Regions from separate parts of the Homo sapiens genome. Here region 2 is linked to region 1. Evidence: promoter capture Hi-C in human tissues and cell types (Jung and others, 2019). All regions are on one chromosome and are shown on one strand. Each heading gives the region's core, a stretch centred on a gene start or on the middle of the fragment in contact. The rest is flanking DNA. Distances are from core to core; before and after follow the strand shown. Region 1 holds the start of PROB1 (proline rich basic protein 1). Region 2 overlaps CTNNA1 (catenin alpha 1).

What was found. Contacts are between HindIII fragments. The study calls those that stand out against the background at their distance.
Region 2: a contact is called between a fragment that was not itself captured here and the fragment with the promoter of PROB1 in region 1, in 1 of the 25 tissues and cell types used here (dorsolateral prefrontal cortex).

The regions. Positions count from the first base shown.
Region 1 is chr5:139,393,854-139,398,587 of GRCh38, forward strand. PROB1 (proline rich basic protein 1) reads right to left here and starts at 1,251. Exons shown (of 1, transcript NM_001161546.2): 1 at 1-1,251. The coding sequence starts at 1,228. It overlaps SPATA24 (spermatogenesis associated 24), which reads right to left. Exons shown (of 6, transcript NM_194296.2): 5 at 3,188-3,290; 6 at 2,914-3,076. The coding sequence ends at 2,947. RefSeq lists a silencer at 477-766. The HindIII fragment of the contact is 5,508 bases long and covers 1-1,736 here.
Region 2 is chr5:138,761,184-138,765,917 of GRCh38, forward strand. The region is part of intron 1 of CTNNA1 (catenin alpha 1); the gene reads left to right. Among named protein-coding and RNA genes, the nearest start is that of CTNNA1-AS1, 9.6 kb to the left of the region's middle. The HindIII fragment of the contact is 4,511 bases long and covers 452-4,734 here.

The sequences.
Region 1 (4,734 bases), core at 1-2,500:
GGCAGCGAGGACCCCGTACAGCCCCATTTGGAGTCTGCCGTGGCGGGGACGGGCTCCTTGGCCTCACAGCCCTACTCGGAACCTCCGAGGGGATCCTACACTCAAAAGGCGGACTCCGTGCCCTCTGAACAGTTCGATCCGGCGCCTCTCGCGGGAACCGAGTCTTCCGCGCCTCCTGGATCTTCTCCTCTGACTGAAGGAAGATGCTGGAACTAACAGGACCCAGCGGCTCCGTCCCGGGCGCAGGCTTGTCGCGCCGAATCGCGCGCTCGCGGAGGCTGGGCCACGGCCTCGGGGCCTTGGCGGGGGCCGAATTATCTCGTACGCGAAGTGGCCGAGACTTAGCCTTCTCCAGGACCACGTGGGTGCTGCGGGCCGTTTCCCGGGTCTCAGGTTCCGACCGCCCCGTGGACCCGAAGGTGGCGCTGCTCGGGGCCGGGGCCTCGGGGCTCAGTTTTCTGGCCAACGCCGTCTGCACGAAGCCCGCGGCGGCCTGCAGGGGGCCCAGCGACTCGTCCAGGGAACCGGTGCGCAGGAGCAGCCGGGGGCGCGGCGCGCCGGCCGCCCTTGGGGGACTCTGGGGCCGGGGGCGCAGCTCGATCTGACGCTTGGGCACTGTCCGGGGCCTGGCGGGCGCGGCGCCCTCCTCCAGAGCCACCTCCACACACTCGAACTGCGCTGGGGCGGCAGGACTTGGCCCACGGGGCCGCAGCTCTAGGTAGGTGGCCCAGCGGGAGCCACCATCGGGGACCTGGGACTGGCGTGGGACCGCGGCGGGAGACGCTGGCCCCGGCGGCAAGGGGCTGATGAAGGCCGGCTCCGTGAACTGTTGTTGCGCCTCGCGATCGTCTGCGCCGGAGCAGCCGAACAGGGGTCCGACGCCGAAGATGACTTCCATCTCCCCCGACGGCAGCGTGCGCAGCTGGGGCTGGGGTGGCCGTGGGCCGGAACCTGGGCCTCGCGGGAAACCCGAGCCGGGCCCGTGCCGCTGGCGGCTATTCTGGGCGCTGACGGACAGGCGAGGCTGCGCGCCCGCCCCCCGCCCAGGAGCCACCCAGGGCCAATTCGCTGGGCCTTTCGCGTCCGGCCCAACGTCCGGGGGCTCCGGAGAACCTGGAGCCGTGTAGTAGGAGCCTGACGAACCGGAGGAGTCCTGGCGCCGCGCGGGGGCCGTGGGCAGCTGCCTCGGGATCCCAGGCAGGGCTGGCGGGGCGAGCGCGGTCAGCATGGTGGGGCCGGACGCCGTGCACTATCTCCCTCGCATTCGCCTCCGCTGGTGGCGCCGGCACTGTCCCCGCCCCGCCCGAGGATGCCGTGGGGGTCACCGCGCCTTAAAGCGGCCGCGTCCACTCCTGAGCCAGCGGCGCCGGCAGCAGAAAAGACCTGGGCCCTGCACCCTTCCCTGTCCAGCCCCCATGCCCAACTAACCCCCTTCTCAGGCACAAGCCGGAGTACCTGGGGTGGGCTCCAAGCTTTGGCTGACAGGCAGGTGAGGGAATGGCAGGCCCAACTTTCAAAGCCTTGGAGCCAGGAGTTAGGCCCAACTCCACCTATCACAGGTGAGGAAACTGAAGCCCAGCAGGGATCCGCCTGAAGTCAGGCACTGCTGTGTGCAGTTCAGGCTGTGAGCGGGTGAACCAGACCTTCAGGCCAGGAGACTCAGGTAGGGCCAGCAATTTCATCTTCCCCTCAGCCCCGGGTGCCTTAGCATCACTGCAGGGGACCCCCATTGCCATTGCTGGCCTCAGCTAGAGCTCTTAAGGGTGCACACACCACCTTTCTTGACCCCAGTTACACTCTTCCTGATCCCCTTCAGTAGAGTGAGGAGCACCGCTAGAGGCTTCCCTGACTCCTCAGGGCCTCAGGAAGGTACTACCACTGGCTGGACCCACTGCCCTCGGTGGGACCTATTGGAAGGAGCTGGAGTGGACAGCTCTAGCTTTCAGTCTGCCTCAGCACCTAGAACAGGCCCTGGATACCGATGTGGGGTCCTACAGGAAGCTTCGAAGTAGCTTGTGGTCCCAGCTCCAAAGGCCCCTGCGGCCAGAACAGCCCTGTGCTCCCCCAGGTATTCACAAGGCCCTAACTTCAGCCCCCACAGCCTTAGGACCTGCCCTGGGGACAGGCGCTGGTGGGGAGGCAACCACCACCTGTCATTGTCTTACAACTGTGGGCACCACTTGCCCTTAAACTTCTGGCTTCAAGGTCCTGCTATGACTCAGGCCCCAGCTGGCCCTGGAGCAAGAGCACTGCCCCCTCCTGTGCACTTGGCCTCAAACCGACCCAGGACAGGCTACACTGGGCTAATCTGACCCCTGAAGTGGGTCCTCTGCCTGGGTGTGTCCCCATGATCACCTAGGGGGCACTCGGTGATGGCTTCTGAAAAAATGTTGCTGCTCCATCCCATCCAGCCCTGCCTGTGCAACTTGTGCAAATTGAGGTCCCTTCCCAGATTGTTTCTCCACCTTAAAACCACACACAGCATTGTCTTTTCTCTTCCTCCCATTGTGAAGCTCCCGTTTGGGGGAGGTGTCAGCAGGTGCAAATGCAATTTGCAGGTATAACATTATTGTCATGTGATGGAAACTGACTTCCCAAATTCCTTGTGGTTCTGGAACCCACTGTCTTTGAAGTTTCTGGTCAGGGCTTCCGGCCCTGTAGTCAAGTTGGGAAGTTAAATTTACCAGGACACTGGGAGTGGGGTGGAATATTACTGGGTAACCAGGGCTGTTTATATAGGAAGGGATTAAATACCCAAAGGAAGCGGTGGTGCCTACCAGACAACAAAGACCCAGCTCCTCCCCTAGGCTACAAGCCCCCACCTTGTGGACCCCTACCACTATCCAAGAGGGAGGGAAGTAGCAGGGGCTAGAGGCTGGGGACTCCCAGAGCAGAGAAGGCAGAGGCTGGGGATTACAGCCAGAGAACAGGAAAGCGGCGGCCATTTTATTTTTCCCTGGGATGCTGGTGGCTGCGGGCCTGACGTGTCCCTGAGGCTTTCTTATGCTTCTGGTCCAGCACCTGGGCCATGTAGCTCTCCTGCTGCTTCTGGATCCGGAAGTCAGACATGTGATTCCTGCAACGGAGCCGGCTGGTGGTGGGCTGTGGACAGCCAAGGGTAGGTAGGGGCCAGAGGTCTGGCTCCCCAGTGTCATCAACAACCCCCAGCCGGGCCCAGACCCCTCACCTGAAGATCTGTTTCTGCTGGCTGATAACTTGCTGCAACTCTTTAATCTCATTCTCTTTGCCATTAAGTATATCTTCTTGCTTTATAATGTGAGACTCAATCTCTGTGGGGGAGAGAGGCAGGGAGGAGGGGTGGTTCCCATCCCAGGGCTCCTTCCTGAGATAAGGCATTCCCTCACGGGGCTTTTCAGAGCTTGGCTCCCCACCCAAGAGTTCTCCATGAAGAACTGCTAATACCTTAGTATGAATGAGTTTATTATGCAGTCTTGGGGGAGTGCAGTGTTTGAGGATTGTTGTCAATGACTTCACAAGTCTATTCTGGACCAGAGGACCCACATGAGGGCAGGAGAAGGTCCTTGGAGAGAAGTGGGCAGGCCTGACCAAAGGCTGGAAGATGAATGGCGCCTGCCCTCAACTCCTGCAGGTCTTTACAGATGTTGCCTCCTTGGAGAAACTCTCCCTCATCAAAAAATTACATTTCCCAGTACTTCCTGTTCCCTCTTCCTGCTTTCTCTTTTTTTTTTTTTTGTATTTGAGACTGAGTCTTGCTCTGTCGCCAGGCTGGAGTGCAGTGGCATGATCTTGGCTCACTGCAACCTCCACCTCCTGAGTTCAAGCAATTCTCCTGCCTCAGCCTCCCGAGTAGCTGGGATTACAGGCGCCTGCCACCACGCCCAGCTAATTTTTGTATTTTTAGTAGAGATGGGGTTTCACCATGTTGGCCAGGCTGGTCTCGAACTTCTGACCTCAGGTGATCCACCCACCTCAGCCTCCCAAAATGCTGGGATTACAGGCGTGAGCCACCATGCCCAACATCCTGCTTTATTTTTCTTAACACTTTTACCTAACATACCATATACTTTACTCATCTGTCTTCTCCGCTGCTGGGATGTAAGGTCCACAAGGACAAGGATCTTTGTTTTATTCACGGCTTTATCCCTAAGGCCTAAAACAGCACCTGGCACATAGTAGGTATACAAAAAGTATATTTGCAGACCGAATGAACGGGATGTCCCTGGGGGTTTAGGACTCAGAAAAAAGACCTAGTTCAGTCATCCCAGTCCAAACAAACTTCCCGAGGGCTGGCTGGATGCCCAGCCTTGTGCTAGGGCTTCAGGGGTGGTGGGAGAAGATGGGAGTTGCCTCGATTTTCAGACCTGTTTCCTCATTTCAAAGATGGGGAAAGAGACAGCCCTATCCCACAGTGGTCTGGGGAGGACCCAGTGAGATAGTGGTGGCAAAGCCTACCCCCAAATTAATCGTACATTTGAGGCAAAGATGACTTTCTGAGGCAGGAGGATGGCTTGAGCCCAGGAGTAAGAGACCAGTCTGGGCAACATAGTGAGACCTCGCCTCTACAAAACTAAAAAAAAAAAAAACAAAAAACTAGCTGGGCATGGTGTTGGAACATGCCTATAGTCCTGGCTACTTGCTGAGGCAAGAGGATCACTTGAGCTCAGGAGTTGGGGGCTGCAATGAGCTATGACTGTGCCCCTGCACTCCAGCCTGGGTGACAGAGCAAGACCCTGTCTCTAAATAATAAATAAA
Region 2 (4,734 bases), core at 1,457-3,956, 630 kb before region 1:
AATAAATTCATTTGACTTCTCTGTATCTTGATTGTGGAGGTGATCACACAACTGTTATTTATTTTTTTTGAGACAGAGTCTCACCCTGTCGCCCAGTCTGGAGTGCAGTGGCATGATCTCGGCTCACTGCAACCTCCACTTCCTGAGTTCAAATGATTCTCCTGCCTCAGCTTCCTGAGTAGCTGGGATTTGCAAGCATGTGTCACCACGACCTGTTTAATTTTTGTACTTTTAGTAGAGACGGGGTTTCACCATTTTGGCCAGGCTGGTTTTGAACTCCTGACCTCAAATGATCCGTCCGCCTCCTAAAGTGCTGGGATTGCGGGCTTTAGCCACTCACCTGGCCCACACAGCTGTTTTTAGATTGGTATACGAGAGAGTGAATTTTATTGTGCATAAAAGGTGGAAAAATGAACAGGTAAAAAAATTTACTCAAAAAAATTTTGGGGGTGAGTTTGGCCTTCTATATGGAGATAATAAATAAGTAGTGAAAAACATGAACCCAATTATTCTTTCTACCTTCTCTGCCCAAATCATTTTTTTCTCAAGTGACCAAAACCACACACTTTGAGGTCTTTTTGTTGTTGTTGATACAGGGTCTCACTCAGTCATCCAGGCTGGAGTGCAGTGGTGCAATCACACCTCACTGCAGCCTTGACCTCCCGGGTTGAAAGTGATCCCCTCACCGCAGCCTCCTATGGAGCTGGGACTACAGGCGCCTGCCACAATGCCTGGCTAATTTTTGTGTTTTCTGTAGAGACAGAGTTTCACCGTGTTTCCCAGGCTGGTCTCAAACTCCTGAGCTCAAGTGATCCACCTGCCTTGGCCTCCCAAAGAGCTGAGATTACAGGCGTGACCCACTGCGCCTGGCCCACTTTGAAGTCCTAAAGAAATTTAGGTTATTATTCTATGCATGTTGGAGGATTTAAGTCTTATTAGCAGCTTCTGTTTTCTGTAAGGAAAAAGTTAAAACACATCTGGAAGAGTCTCATAGAGCAGCACTTTCTGAAACTTGCCTGGGTACCAGTATGCCTGCTTCCAGACCTTGAAGATATTACATGTACTGCTTGGTGATCTGCCCTGTCCCCCACATGTTGTGGGCCTGGATTGAATGGACTGAACAGTGTGGGGAATTAGTCCAGCGTGACTTGCCTTGTCTCATGCTGTTTGCTCACTTGTGAGAGCACTATACTGAATTATCCATTATTGAAAGTTCCAAGTGTGCAAAGAACCACACTTCAAAAATAAAATGTCAACATTGCCCTTTCTCTGTTAGAGCCTTAAATGTTCATTATTTTCTTTAGTTTTTTTTTATAACTATCAAACTTATTTTTCTCCATGTGGAAGTATGCCACAACTCCATTTCTAATGGAGCTTGAAATTAGCATGTATTTCCACTTACTTGTTGATGGGCTGTCATCGATCAACCCCTCTTTTTGATTGGGATTTAATTTGTGGTTTTTTTTTTTTACCAGCTGTAAGTTTGGAGTAATGCATGTAATGTAAATACAGTTCACAGGGCAACTTCGGATGTTCTAAATACTTGTAACATTTGCTCATTTTGAACAATATTGTATGAGTAGTGTGAAGTGATTTTTAAAATGTCTGTCATTTTTTTCATGTTCCCATTTTATTAAAAGGAGGGATGGAACTATATTGTGGAAGCTAATGTAATTTTTGTCTCTAAGAGGTTTTTTTTTCTTTTTAGACTAAAAGGGCTTAACAGAAGAAAAATTTATCTTTCTTAATTGCTAATTTAAAGGCTAATTTTTTCCCTAGATTGCTTAGTTTTGACTATTTGATTCCATCATATCAAGCTGTGAATTTCCTTCATTTTCTTGTTTTGAGGTTTCATTATTAAATATTGTCAAAAATAAGTGGCTCATCAACTCTCTTGAAAGTGTCTTATTGCTATGTTTTTTTTTGTCAGTATTTGACATTCTGAATTGAAGATGTGAGTTGGAAACCTGGTTAATTACCAAGTTACATAATCCTGTATTTATTAACTAGGTTAGACTACATACAGACTGTTCTTGAAAATGAAAGTGCTGTTATAACTCAGAAAACACATTCACTATGGCCCATTTCAAGTTAATTGAAGGATTGAGCCTTTGATAGTGCATTTGCCCTGTGCGGCTCTGTTACATGCATTCTTTCTAGGCAAAGATGCATTGTTACCATTCTCTCATGGTATGTTGAATATTTCATTAGATTCAATATTTCAATATTAATCCAAGCTTTTTTTTTGAGACAGGGTCAAGCCATCCTCCCACCTCAGCCTTCTGAATAGCTGGGACCATAGGTGTGTACTACGACACCCAGCTAATTTTTTACATTTTTAGTAGAGACAGGTCTCACCATATTGCTTAGGCTGATCTTTGAACTCCTGAACTCAAGCGATCTGCCCACCTTGGCCTCCAAAGTGCTAGGATTACAGGCATGTGCCACTGTGCCTGGCCTGAGTTTACAATCCAAATTCTAAATCATGGTTTGTGAAATATGATGGTGCAGTGAATAAGCTAGAGGCTAAAAGGGAGAAGCATGTTACTATTACTGATGAAACAGTGTTTGTGGGTTTTATATTCCTGGGGATCTCTAAATTGGCAAAAGGTTTCATGAGGGATTCATTTGTTGTCATTCTCTTGCGTCTGTGGACCTGGGTTATCATATTTTTAGAAAAGCTTTGGACTGACTTTTAAGTGTGTCTTTAGAAACCTGCCATTTAGGCTGGGTGCGGTGGCTCACGCCTTTAATCCCAGCACTTTGGGAGGCGGGCAGATCACCTGAGGTCAGGAGTTCAAGACTAGCCTGACTAACATGGAGAAACACCGTCTCTACTAAAAATACAAAAAATTGCAGGGCGCGGTGTCTCACACTTGTAATCCCAGCTACTCCTGAGTCTGAGGCAGGAGAATTGCTTGAACCCGGGAGGTGGAGGTTGCAGTGAGCTGAGATTGTGCCATTGCACTCCAGCGTGGGTGACAGAGCGAGAATCTGTCTCAAAAAAACAAAAAACAAAAAACAAAAAAATAATTAGCCGGGCATGGTGGCACATGCCTGTAATCCCAGTTACTCGGGAGGCTGAGGCAGAAGAATCCCTTGAACCTGGAAGGCGGAGGTTGCAGTGAGCTGAGATCGTGCCATTGCACTCCAGCCTGGGCAACAAGAGTGAAACTCTGTCTCAACAAAAAAAAGAAACCTTCCATTTTGCAGAGAGGTAACTAAGTGAAATGTGAGTTTGATCCCTTGGGAGGGAAAAAAAAGTGGAAATGGAAGATGGCAACTTTTTTCTTTTTTTTTAATTTGAGACGGAGTTTTGCTTTTGTTGCCCAGGCTGGAGTGCAGTGGCATGATCTCAGTTGACCGCAACCTCTGCCTCCTGGGTTGAAGCGATTCTCCTGCCTTAGCCTCCCGAGTAGCTGGGATTACAGGCATGCACCACCACGCCTGGCTGATTTTGTATTTTTATTAGAGACGGGGTTTCTCCATGTTGGTCAGGCTGGTCTCGAACTCCTGACCTCAGGTGATCCGCCCACCTCAGCCTCCCAAAGTGCTGGGATTATAGGTGTGTGCCACTGTACCTGGCCAGATGACATTTATTTCGGGTCTTTAAGACCAGTGAAAGATGTGATGTTTTCTAGTTGCTTTGAGTTAGTCTAAAGCAGTAATTTGCTGTATCTCTCTCTTTTTTTTTTTTTTTTTTTTTTGAGATCTCGCCCTGTCGCCCATGCTGGAGTGGGAGTGCAGTGATGCGATCTCTCTTCACTGCAGCCTCTGGCTCCAGGATTCTAGCGATTCTTCTGCCTCAGCCTTCCGAGTATCTGGGATTACAGGTGCCTGCCACCATGCCCAGCTTGTTTTCTTTTTGTTTTTTTGAGACGGAGTCTTGCTCTGTCCCCCAGATTGGAGTGCAATGGCATGATCTCGGCTCACTGCAACCTCCGCCTCCCAGGTTCAAGTGATTCTCCTGCCTCAGCCTCCCAAATAGCTGGGATTACAGGCACCCACCACCACGCCCAGCTAATTTTCATATTTTTAGTAGAGATGGGGTTTCACCAGGTTGGCCAGGCTGGTCTCAAACTCCTGACCTCAGGTGATCCGCCCGCCTCGGCCTCCCAGAGTGCTAGGATTACAGGCGTGAGCCACCGCGCCCGGCCCCAGCTAATTTTCTTATTTTTAGTAGAGACGAGGTTTCACCATGTTGGCCAGGCTGGTCTTGAACTCCTGACCTCAAGTGATCCACCAGCCTCTTCCTCCCAATGTGCTGGGATTATAGGTGAGAGCCACTGTGCCTGGCCATTTTGCTGTATCTCAATTGCATCAGGAAAGGCTCACTTAAATACAGTTCATTTATTAAGTCTGCCTTGCAAAGCAGTGTGCTGTGTGCTGGAGGGATGTTAATGTGTAAGCCACCATTGCTAACCCCAGGAAATTTATGAACTCAGGAGATCAGGTTTGGTAAAATAGCTGATAGGTAAGAATTGGCGCTGGGCGAGGTGGCTCATGCCTGTAATCCCAGCACTTTGGGAGGCCGAGGCAGGTGGATCACGAGGTCAAGAGATCGAGACCATACTGGCCAACATGGTGAAACCCCATCTCTACTAAAAATATAAAAATTAGCTGGGCATGGTGGTGCATGCCTGTAGTCCCAGCTACTTGGGAGGCTGAGGCAGGAGAATCATTTGAACCTGGGAGGCAGAGGTTGCAGTGAGCCAAGATCGCGCCACTGCACTC